3 separate regions of the Homo sapiens genome follow, and all the other regions are linked to region 2. The links are contacts of gene promoters, found by promoter capture Hi-C in blood cells and fetal thymus (Javierre and others, 2016). All regions are on one chromosome and are shown on one strand. The core of a region is centred on a gene start or on the middle of the fragment in contact, and the rest is flanking DNA. Distances in the headings are between cores, read along the strand shown. Region 1 holds the start of CSRNP2 (cysteine and serine rich nuclear protein 2). Region 2 holds the start of CELA1 (chymotrypsin like elastase 1). Region 3 overlaps CSRNP2 (cysteine and serine rich nuclear protein 2).

Region 1 (3,830 bases), core at 625-3,124, 260 kb before region 2:
CAGGCTAGCACCTAATAAACAGTTCCACCAGAATATGTATATTTTAGTACTAGATCTAAGTTTTTTTCAGGCCTAAAAGGATTCCTATAACCACCAAAACAAACAAACAAACAAACAACAACAACAACAAAAAAAAACAGCATATGTGAGAGCAGCAAGAGGGACTGCCCAGGCAAAATTTTCTGGAAGAATCTATTTGCAAAGTTTAGGTAATATAAGTCTCTTTCTTAAATGAGTCCAAAGTAATAAGCTACATCTCACAGGAGAAAGCCTCTTCACTTGACTGGAACCCAACCTTCTGCTAAAGGTCAAGGAATCAAAACCTCCAGTAAGATGGTCAGGGCTACCATCTGTAGCTGGGTTGGAAGGAAGGCTTGCTGCTGTGTTACCATAAACCTGAATAAAATGACCTGCCCTGTTTCTCCTTTTACAAGATACTGTGGTTGTTTCTCATATACCATGAATTTCATGGATCCATGTGTCTTTGTGATCACCAGGATCATGAACTTACAAAGCACCCAAGTGAAAACCCCCCGCTTAAGTTAGGTGTTTAAAGAAAGCCGTGCACTCACCACCCCCACTCCCCGATTTTTACCCATTCACTAACACAAGGTTAGAATTTTCCATGCCTAAACTACCATCGTGTGGAAGACAGATCTTTGTGGGAACTGGAACATGATGCTGCATTAACTCTCAAGGATATCCAGTCATTTATAACACCGGCACAACCAACATCCTGGCTTTGTGGATTTGCAAGACAGAAAGCCAGTGAAGAAAAAAATCTGAACTATGAATTTACCTTGAACTGAAAACTGCAGGACAAGGGGACAGTGTTGTCTTGTGGGGATAACTTCTAGCATTTCATTCTGAAGAACAGTTTGTGTGTCACACTGCCACTCTCAACCCCTTTAAAAGGATGAATCAAGACCACAGCACTAAAAGGGACGGGTGGCAGTTGGCTGCGTAATTGGGCCTATGAAAAAAGATCAAGCTAGCAACCAGGGCAATTGATGCTTTCATTTTCCCACACGACGCCAGAAATATGGGAGACATCAGGAACCGGAGCGAAGGGACATGTCAAGTCACCAGTTCCTTTTAATGAACACTCCTGCCGAACCCTTCAGCTCTCGGCCCACTTCCCTCTGATTCCTGCTAACCTTCCCGCTCATTCCAATCCTCTGCAGCCCCTACCCAGCCTTCCGCATCCCTTCCTGCCTGCTACTCACAAATTCCCAACCACTCCTCCCACATTTTCCTCTGTTCCCCCTCCCCTTCCTTCACTTTCCTCCATCCTACATCATTCTCCACTCCATTCCGAACTCAATCCTCATCTGCAATCCTGCAGGCTTCCAAGCCGCCCATCGGTCTCCCGCGAGCTGCCCCCGCAGTCCGGGCCAGCGTCCTCGGTGCCCCTCGCTCCCACGCCTCTTCCCGACTCGGTTCCTTCCCAACGGCACCCGACCTCCCCGCCCCCCGACCGCTCCCGTCCGAGCCTCTCATTTCTGACCCCTCCATCCGCACGGCTCTGGGCTTGACCACTCCTCCACGGCCGCCCGAGGGCCGATCCCGAGAAAGGACGAGGCGGCACCCTCCGCCCCGCACCCCTAGGCCCATTACCGGCCCCGCCGCAGCTGCCTCCTCCCGTGATGGTCTCTGCCGCCCCCGCTGCCGCCGCCGCCCTAGCCCGGTGGGAAGGAGGGAGGAGCGAGCGAGTCCCGGGCCCCGCGGCGACGGCCGGGGAGCTCCCAGGGCGGCAGGGCGGGGAGGGAGGGCGGTGGGCAGCCCAGCCGGCAGGCAGAGAGGGCCGGGCGTCTCCGGCAACTCGGGCGCCCCCGGCAGCAGACGCCCAGAACCGCCCCGGCTCCGGCTAACAATAGGATCCGGCCGCAGCGCACTGGCTCTTATAGGCGCCGGCACGTCCTGACCGAGACCCGGGGCTGGCTGGGAAATGGAGTCTACGGGCCGGCCCACACCCAGCAGCATGCCGGGAGTTGTAGGCGGTAACTGCTGCAAAGCCGAAGCCGGCGCGCAAACCGGCTCCCGAGGCGGCAGCTCTGCTGCAACCTTTTAATGGGGGAAGAGAGGAGACTCAGCTACAGATCTTAAATAAACGAATTCTCCTCCAAAGCTCCCTTTTTCTTTCGTGTCCTGACCACACGCCATTAGGAACATGATCCCCCCTTCTCCTCGCTCATGGGGTCTTAGTCTTCAGCAATATGACTTATTGCAGCCTGCGCAGGTTATAAAGAATACAAGCAATATCTTGAGTTATCTACTTATATGAGGGAGTGCTTTGAGTGTTTTCTTTAAAAAAAAAAAAATTGCTGCCGGGCGCGGTGGCTCACGCCTGTAATCCCAGCACTTTGGGAGGCCGAGGTGGGCGGATCACGAGGTCAGGAGATCGAGACCAACCTGGCTAACAAGGTGAAACCCCGTCTCTACTAAAAAATACAAAAATTAGCCGGGCGTGGTGGCGGGCGCCTGTAGTCCCAGCTACTCGGGAGGCTGAGGCAGGAGAATGGCGTGAACCCGGGAGGCGGAGCTTGCAGTGAGCCGAGATCGCGCCACTGCACTGCAGACTGGGCGAAAGAGCGAGACTCCGTCTCAAAAAAAAAAAAAAAAAAATCTTCTCAACTTTGCAAACTAATTTATTTATTTAAATAGAAAAGGGGTTTTCGCCATGTTGCCCCGGCTGGTCTTGCACTCCTGGGCCCAGGCGATCCGCCCGCCTCGGCCTCCCAAAGTGCTGGGATTATACGCATGAGCCACCGCGCCCTTCCGCAACCTATTTTTAAGAAAGGGCGCCAGGCGCGGTGGCTCATGCCTGTAATCCCAGCACTTTGGGAGGCCGAGGCGGGCGGGTCATGAGGTCAGGAGTTCGAGACCAGCCTGACCAACATGGTGAAACCCTGTCTCTACTAAAAATACAAAAATTAGCCGAGGGTGGTAGCACGTGCCTTTAATCCCAGCTCCTCGGGAGGCCGACCCAGGAGAATGGCTTGAACCCGGGAGGCGGAGGTTGCAGTGAGCCAAGACTGCACCATTGCCCTCCAGCACGGTCAACAAGAGCGAAACTCCGTCTCAAAAAAAAAAAGAAAAAGAAAAAGAAAAAAAAGGGGAAAACCAAGATTAAGAAGTCAAAAGTTGTATGTGATTTGCCAAGGACACATAGCCTTGGTTTCTTCTTTGTTGTCTTTCCCTTGAACTATAAGGCTCGGCAAGCTCGAGCTGCATTCTCTTGTCCCCCGACCCCCACCCCGCCCCCTCATTTTGTTCTGTCATCTTGTTTGCTTCTACTTTCCCCCTTCCATACTCTGCTTGAATACACTGGCCTCATTGCAGCTCCTTCAACTGGGCAATCATTCTCTTACCTCAGGGCCTTTTGTCTGGCTTCCACCAGCTAGCCACATACTTACTCCCTCACATAATATCTGCTCGAATGTCCCCATATCCGAGATCTTCCCTAACCATATTTCTTTTTCCCTGCATTAAGAGACAGGATTTCACTCTGTCACCCAGGCTGGAGTGCAGTGGCGCAATCACGGCTCACAGCAGCCTCAAACTCCCGGGCACAAATGCCTAACCATATTTCTAAAATGGTGCTTCTCCTTAGTTTCTATCCCTGTGCCTTATATTTCTTCTTAGCATCCACGTATTTGTTTTTGTCTTGTCTCACTTGACTAAATTCGGTGAGAGCAAGGAATTGTTTTGTTTACTGTATCCTCAACACACAGTACAAAGCCTAGTAGTTGACATTTAAGAGTATGATAGATATTTATTGGATAGATGGATGGACAGCAGGATTTAAACTCACGTTAGGCTGGTTCCAA
Region 2 (3,812 bases), core at 926-3,425:
AACATGGTGAAACCCCATCTCTACTAAAAATGCAAAAATTAGTCGGGCGTGGTGGCATGCACCTGTAGTCCCAGCTACTCAGGAGGCTGAGGCAGGAGAATTGCTTGAACCCAGGAGGTGGAGGTTACAGTGAGCTGAGATAGCGTCACTGCACTGCAGCCTGGTGACAGAGCGAGACTCCATCGCCCCCTCTCCTCCCCCAAAAAAGAGGAACTATAGGCAAAGATTTGCTCCATCACCTAAGCCCAACAGGCTTAGGTCTCCAGAGCTGTACCTTTAGTGTTTTCAAGACATCTCCTGTCTCCCCACTTCAGGGACTACTTAGAAATACCAATGGGAGGCCAGGCGCTGTGGCTCATGCCTGTAATCCCAGCACTTTGGGAGGCTGAGGCGGGTGGATCACCTGAGGTCAGGAGTTTGAGACCAGCCTGGCCAACATGGTGAAACCCCGTCTCTACTAAAAATACAAAAATTAGCTGGGCATGGTGACAGGCGCCTGTAATCCCAGCTACTCAGGAGGCTGACGCAGGAGAACTGCTTGAACCCAGGAGGCAGAGTTTGCAGTGAGCCGAGATCATGCCATTGCACTCTAGCCTGGGCAATGAGAGCAAAACTCCATCTCAAAAAAAAAAAAATACCAATAGGATGTTTGTTTTTATCAGTTCATGTCTCTTCTTCTAGCACCTCATGTTATGTAATAGCTCTACTCCTGAAAACTGGGGCTCAGACTTTTATAAGCTAAAACTCTGATTGCAGTGATATCTTCTCAAAGTGTGGATCTTCATCAGTTAATTTGCCAGGTTTACATATTTAGATCACTTAAATCAGGGCCCAGCTGCCCTGTTAGCAAAGTGGAAACTCTAAATAGCCAACTAAGCAGCATGCTGTACGTGTGTGTGTGTGTGTGTGCGCGCACATGCGTGCAAGCATTGTGACACACACAGTGTGGAGTGGTGTGCGTGTGAGTTTCAAGGTATGTGGAGTCCAAGGTGACTGTCTGGCACCCAGTCTTTCTTGCGTGGCACAAGTGCTGTCGCTGAGAATATAAATGTATCTTGTGTTTGGGTGTGTGCCTTGAAGAGGGACTGTGGTTGGTGTATAAATCCCCTCCTCCAAGCCTTTTGCATTTAGAAAACCACCTAAGCCTGATCCCATCCATCTTTAAAATCGAGAACCTAGACAATTGGAGAGCTGCTTGTTGATAGGGACATGCACAAATACACATGATACCTTATGTCATGCACTGAGCTCTTATTTGGGTGGAAGTCTGGGGCTGGGAAGGAACACCCACCTGAGAGGGCCAGGAATTCCTCCCGGCCTCAGTCCCTCCGACTACGCGGGCATTGGTTTCCGGAAGGTCCTGGGTGCTGTGTCCTTTGTGGGGCAGAAGAAAAGTGAGTGATGACTAAGCATGGGGTCAGCCAGGGGTAGGGGTGGGGGGTGGCGATTGTGCTTTGAGGAATGTTAGCCTTGTCTGCAAATTCACAGTTCCTCTCTAACGAATGAGGGGCCCAGCTGTGAGTTCTCTGAGCCCCTTTTGAAAACAGGGGTGCCTGGGTGCCTTCTGTTTCCCCCAGGTGTTCCCAGAACTCCGGCATGCTATGAAGGACCTCTCTCAAACCACCAGGCTAGGCCCCAGAGGCTCCTTGTGGTCTCCTCTTTGCTCAAGATCACCCTTTGGCCTGAAGAGACCCCCCCCCACTCTTTGACCCCCACCAGCCCCCTAATGCTTTGGCAAGATTCTCCAGGGTTCAGGGCCTGCAGTGCACACCCCAGCCAGGCACCTGCTGAGGAAGTCCTCCTGTCAATGGGGGTGGTGGGGAAGCCCAGGGACCCACCCCACTACCAGATGGGGCTTCTCTCTGCTTTGTGGCCCAGGGACCTGCCACCCAGAGGGGCCTGAATAGCCAGTGGCCCTGACCTTTTCTATCTTGGCCTCCAGGAGAGTAAAGGACGCTCTGCAGGCAGAGCGTCCCACCTGCCCTGGGACAGGGTGCTGGCCTGGACTTAGGGAAAATTTGCTGACCTTCCTGCCCAAGTCCCCCTCCCTATAGACCTCAGGCCACATGATCCACTTACCATAAAGGACCAGGGTTGCGACTGGACCATATCCACTTACCATAAAGGACCAGCATGTTGCCGATGGAGTAGACCACTGCCTTCTTGCTTGGACCAAGCCCTCTTTATACTCCTCTTAGCAGCAAAGCTGACTGTCTTCTTGCCAACTGGCAGGGCTGAGGGTGCAAGGCAGGGAAAATCACAAGTGACATGGAAATACAAATGAAAATATTTCTTTTCAAGTAAACTAATGTATCTGTTATTCAAAGACAGAACAAGGCCAGGGCTGAATTAATCATCTGCTTTTAATTGAAAAGCATCCAACAAACTCTTTTTCAGAAATAAGATGGAGAACCAGGGCTGGTTTTTCTCTAAGGGAGCACCCCTTGTCATCCATCACTCTCTCGTTGTCCTCAGTGGCACCATAAATGCAGAGACTTGCCCTGTGCACTAGCAGCTGGAGGCCAGGGGGATAGTGGAAGAGGGGGGAGTGGTTAGCAAGGGCAAGGAAGACACAGCAACTCTCTCTGCCCAAAGAGGGAGATGGCACATGCCCCCAGGATGCAGGCATAGGTGTAAATGCAGACACAAAAGCCAAATAGATGCAGTGGAGATAATTCTGGGGGAGGAAAGTACTGAGAAACAGGCTTGGGCCCTCTCAGATGGAGAGCCAAGAAGGGGCTCCCAGAGGAGAATATGAGGCAGGGTAGAGGAGGGGATCCTTGGGATGTGAAGACAGTCTGAGGGCTATGAGGGTAGATGGAGGGTGGAGGGCAGAGGGAGAACGAGGGTAGGAGCCGAGGTTCCTGCAGGAGATGAAAGGCTTTGTTCATCACAGTTCGTAGAGGAGAGAGAAGGGAGTTGCGGCCGGGCGCGGTGGTTTACGCCTGTAATCCCAGCACTTTGGGAGGCTGAGGCGGGCGGATCACAAGATCAAGAGATCGAGACCATCCTGGCCAACATGGCGAAACCCCGTCTACTAAAAATACAAAAATTGGCCGGGCGCGGTGGCTCATGCCTGTAATCCCAGCACTTTGGGAGTCGGAGGCGGGCGGATCACGAGGTCAGGAGATTGAGACTACTCTGGCTAACACAGTGAAACCCCGTCTCTACTAAAAAAATACAAAAAATTAGCTGGGCGTGGTGGCAGGCGCCTGTAGTCCCAGCTCCTCGGGAGGCGCAGGCAGGAGAATGGCGTGAGCCCGGGAGGCGGAGCTTGCAGTGAGCCGAGATCGCGCCACTGCACTCCAACCTGGGCGACAGAGCGAGACTCCATCTAAAAAAAAACAAAAACAAAATACAAAAATTAGCTGGGCATGGTGGTGCGCTTCTGCAGTCCCAGCTAATCTGGAGGCTGAGGCAGGAGAATCGCTTCAACCTGGGAAGCGGAGGTTGCTGCACTCCAGCCTGGAGACAGAGCAAGACTCTGTCTCAAAATAAATAAATAAATAAATAAATAAATAAATAAATAAATAAATAAATAGAGAGAGAAAAGAGTTGCAATGTGCCTTGAGGTGGGCAGAGGACCCTTGGGTTGGCCACAAAATGATCAGAGCCACTGCAGGCTCCAGAGCAGAGGACTGTGGGTGCAGCAGTCATGGTAGCAACGCATGGGGTTTGGAATTAGGCAGGGAGAAGCCAGGAACCTAGACAGAAGCAGGACCATCACCTGCCCACCCAGGGCTTTTGTTGCCTAAACACTCCAGAATCCAAGCTTCATGGCTGCAGGGGTGGGAGAAACCTGGAAAATGCTC
Region 3 (3,361 bases), core at 650-3,149, 280 kb before region 2:
CCCACTGTTCAAGTAGGATGGGCTGTTCACCGTTGAGGCAGTTGGGTGGTCTGAGTTCTCGGTAAAACACAGGACAGAGGAGCCTGGGGGCAGCTGAGCCTGGATGAGAATGGGGGCTGTAAGGCCTGGGCACAGCTCTTCGGGGACAGCCAGAGGCTCCTCTAGGATGCACACACCCAGGCTCTCGATGCTCGAGTCCAGGCTGGCACTAGAGCCGCTGGAATCTTCTTCTGCCTTGAGCCGCTCCAGTTCCTCTGCACTCTGCAGGTGCATCACTGCTGTCTCATTCTCAGCAATGAACTCCTGGAAGTCCTGGGTCTCAGAGCCCTGTGCTCCTGTCAGGCTGCAACTGGCAGTCGGGGAGGGCTCCTCATCTGGGGCTGCTGGGCGGCTCACCTGCCGCTTGCTCTCCAGCTCCAGCTTCATAATGGTGTGGAGGTAATGAGTCCGGACCCGGATTGGATTAAATTCAATGCGTCCTGCCATGTTCCCACAGCCATCCCGGGAGCAGCCACATGGAAAGGACATGCGATCCACCTGAGCGGGGACAAGAAGGTTGGGGCAAGATGAGACCTACAATCCTAACAATGGAGACAGGAGACATGAGCTGGCAAACAGGCAGTTGGGATTTGAGGTCTCCTTGTAAGAAGAAAAGCAACCAATTCAAAGCATAGCATGCAGTGTGAGCTAACAGAACACTAGATGGTAGTTATCAGACCACTTGCATTTCAATCCCAGCTCAGCCATTAATTAGTGGTGTGACCTCAAGAGAATCATTTATCTCTCTAGGGCTTTGTTTCCTCTTCTAAATAACAAGTAGACAAAATCACAGCACAGGGTCCTTCCAGTTAAGAGTCCAGAGATACTTCTCTGAATGCTGATAGTTTTCACAGAGGAAATTTACGAGCCTCAGAGACTTTTTCAGAACTTACCTGGTTCACTGAGACAACAAAAGGCTGGAACCAAGCCTATGGCCTGCAATGACAGGCATGGGAGAGTGAGTGGAAGATCTTGCTACTTCAAAAAAAATACATTCTGGGGAAACTAAGCAAATGTGCCTTAGTTTGCTAAGGTGCTAGAACGCAGGTTCACACAGTGGCCAATTTTTTAGCTACCTGCTTTATTTTCCCTGAGGGTTGACTAGTTTAGTTCTGAAGCAGTTACCAAGATAATTAACTTACAGACCAGGAATATCTGGAAAGGAGATGCTTTCTACCTCCTTATCACTTTCATATTCCAACAGGAAAAACACATAAACCAAAAATAAAAGGAAAAATTAAAACCACAAGTAAGCAAATAAGCATGTACAAATCACAATGTCTTTCTATGATACTGACTTATAGAAATCTCCACTCCAGTTATACCATTTTTTTTTCCTTTGGAGATAGGGTCTTGCTCTGTCGTCCAGGCTGGAGTGCAGTGGTGCCATCATGGCTCACTGCAGCCTGGAGCCATGCTGGGATTACAGGTGTGAGCCACCGCGCCCGGCCCTAATTTTAAAATTTTTTGTAGAGATGGGGTCTCGCTATGTTGCCCAGGCTGGCCTCAAACTCCTGGGCTCAAGCAGTCCTTCCACCCCAGCCTCCCAAAGTGCTAGTTACAGGTGTGAGCCAACATGCCAGGCCCAGCTGCATCAATTCTTAGGACTGTTCTCAGGTGTGTGTGTAACAGAATGACTCATTATGGGACTTTGGTCTGAAAAGCAGTATTTGGCCAGATATACCACAGTTATTTGTTACCCAGCTAAAAATAAAGAAAGAGTGAGTTAGGAGAAATCCAACCACAAGGACTCAGCATCTACACCCTCAATAATTAAGTTCCAGATAAATTTCATTCTTAGGGATGGTATTGCTGTTTTCAACTGAAATGTGTCTTAAACTGTCCCCCATCAGAGGGCCAACAAGGGGCCAGGCACGGTGGCTCATGCCTGTAATCCCAGTACTTCGGGAGGCTGAGGCAGGCAGATCACCTGAGGTCAGGCGTTTGAGACCTGCCCGGCCAACATGATGAAACCCTGTCTCTACTAAAAATACAAAAGCTGGCCAGGTGCGGTGGCTCACGCCTGTAATCCCAGCACTTTGGGAGGCTGAGGCAGGCGGATCACGAGGTCAAGAGATCGAGACCATCCTGGCCTACATGGTGAAACGCCGTCTCTACTAAAAATACAAAAATTAGCTGGGTGTGGTGGTGTGTGCCTATAGTCCCAGCTACTCGGGAGGCTGAGGCAGGAGAATTGCTTGAACCCGGGAGGCAGAGGTTGCAGCGAGCCGAGATCACGCGCTACGGCACTCCAGCCTGGCAACAGAGCAAGACTCCGTCTCAAAAAAAAAAAAAAAAAAGAATTACAACAATACAACAATTAGCCGGGCATAGTGGTGCACACCTGTAATCCCAGCTACTTGGGAGGCTGAGGCGGGAGAATCACTTGAACCCAGGAGGTGGAGGTAGCAGTGAGCCAAGATCGCGCCACTGCACTCCAGCCTGGGCGACAGAACGAGACTCCGTCTCAAAAAAAAAAAAGGGCAGCCAACAAGAGATGATACTTTCTCTTTCAGATAACTATGGTTTTAAGCTCTGCTAGGCCAGGTCTGATCCTGAATTATAAAGCTCTGAATACTATTTTGATTTTTTCAAAATTGGAGTAGAGGTACTGAACAATAAGTGTTTGCAGATAGAATCTACAGGCCCACACCATTCCTCTGCTAACTTTTTGAGACAGGGTCTTGCTCTGTCGCCCGGGCTGGAGTGCAGTGGCACAATCATAGCTTACTGCAACCTATGCCTCCCAGGCTCAAGTGATCCTCCTCCCATCTCAGCCTCTTGAGTACCTGGGACTACAGGCCCATGCTACCATGTCCAGCTAATTTTTGTATTTTTTGTAAAGATGGGGCTTAGCCATGTTGCCCAGGCTGGTCTCGAACTCCTGGGAAGCAATCTGCCTGCCTGCCTCGGCCTCCCAAAGTGCTGGGATTACAGATGTGAGCCACCATGCCCAGTCCTGCTTCCTTTTATCTCAAGGAATCAGTATTTAGGAAACAGTATTTAGGAAATACTGTTTAGGAATCAGTATTTAGGAAACATTTACTAAATGTTAAATGTACTAACTCCTCTTCATCCCTTTCCTAACAGCTGCTTCTTATCACCTCTGAGAAATGAAACAAAAAAAGATGAGATACCTCCACAGCCTAAGAATCCTGTCATGCTTGTTTTCTTTGCAAAAATTTTAAGAGACAGGGTCTCACTCTGTGACCCAGGCTGGCGTGCACTGGTGTGAACTCAGCTCACTGCAGCCTTGACCTCCTGGACTCAAGAGATCCTCCTACCTCAGCCTCCCACATAGCTAGGATTAGAGGTGTGAGCC

Evidence for each region. Contacts are between HindIII fragments. The CHiCAGO score rates a contact against its expected background, and 5 or more counts as called.
Region 1: a contact is called between the fragment with the promoter of CSRNP2 here and the fragment with the promoter of CELA1 in region 2, in 8 of 17 cell types (endothelial precursors, megakaryocytes, M1 macrophages and 5 more). The highest score is 11.1, in endothelial precursors.
Region 3: a fragment that was not itself captured here is called in contact with the fragment with the promoter of CELA1 in region 2 in 13 of 17 cell types (megakaryocytes, erythroblasts, naive B cells and 10 more); the score reaches 8.1 in megakaryocytes.

Annotation. Positions count from the first base shown.
Region 1 is chr12:51,081,722-51,085,551 of GRCh38, forward strand. It overlaps CSRNP2 (cysteine and serine rich nuclear protein 2), which reads right to left and starts at 1,875. Exons shown (of 5, transcript NM_030809.3): 1 at 1,618-1,875. RefSeq lists a silencer at 1,437-1,926 and an enhancer at 2,300-2,926. The HindIII fragment of the contact is 4,493 bases long and covers 1-3,830 here.
Region 2 is chr12:51,344,504-51,348,315 of GRCh38, forward strand. It overlaps CELA1 (chymotrypsin like elastase 1), which reads right to left and starts at 2,176. Exons shown (of 8, transcript NM_001971.6): 1 at 2,120-2,176; 2 at 1,292-1,374. The coding sequence starts at 2,135. The HindIII fragment of the contact is 4,543 bases long and covers 1-3,770 here.
Region 3 is chr12:51,064,133-51,067,493 of GRCh38, forward strand. It overlaps CSRNP2 (cysteine and serine rich nuclear protein 2), which reads right to left. Exons shown (of 5, transcript NM_030809.3): 5 at 1-537. It also overlaps a transcript of LETMD1 not described here. Among named protein-coding and RNA genes, the nearest start is that of LETMD1, 17 kb to the left of the region's middle. The HindIII fragment of the contact is 5,071 bases long and covers 1-3,361 here.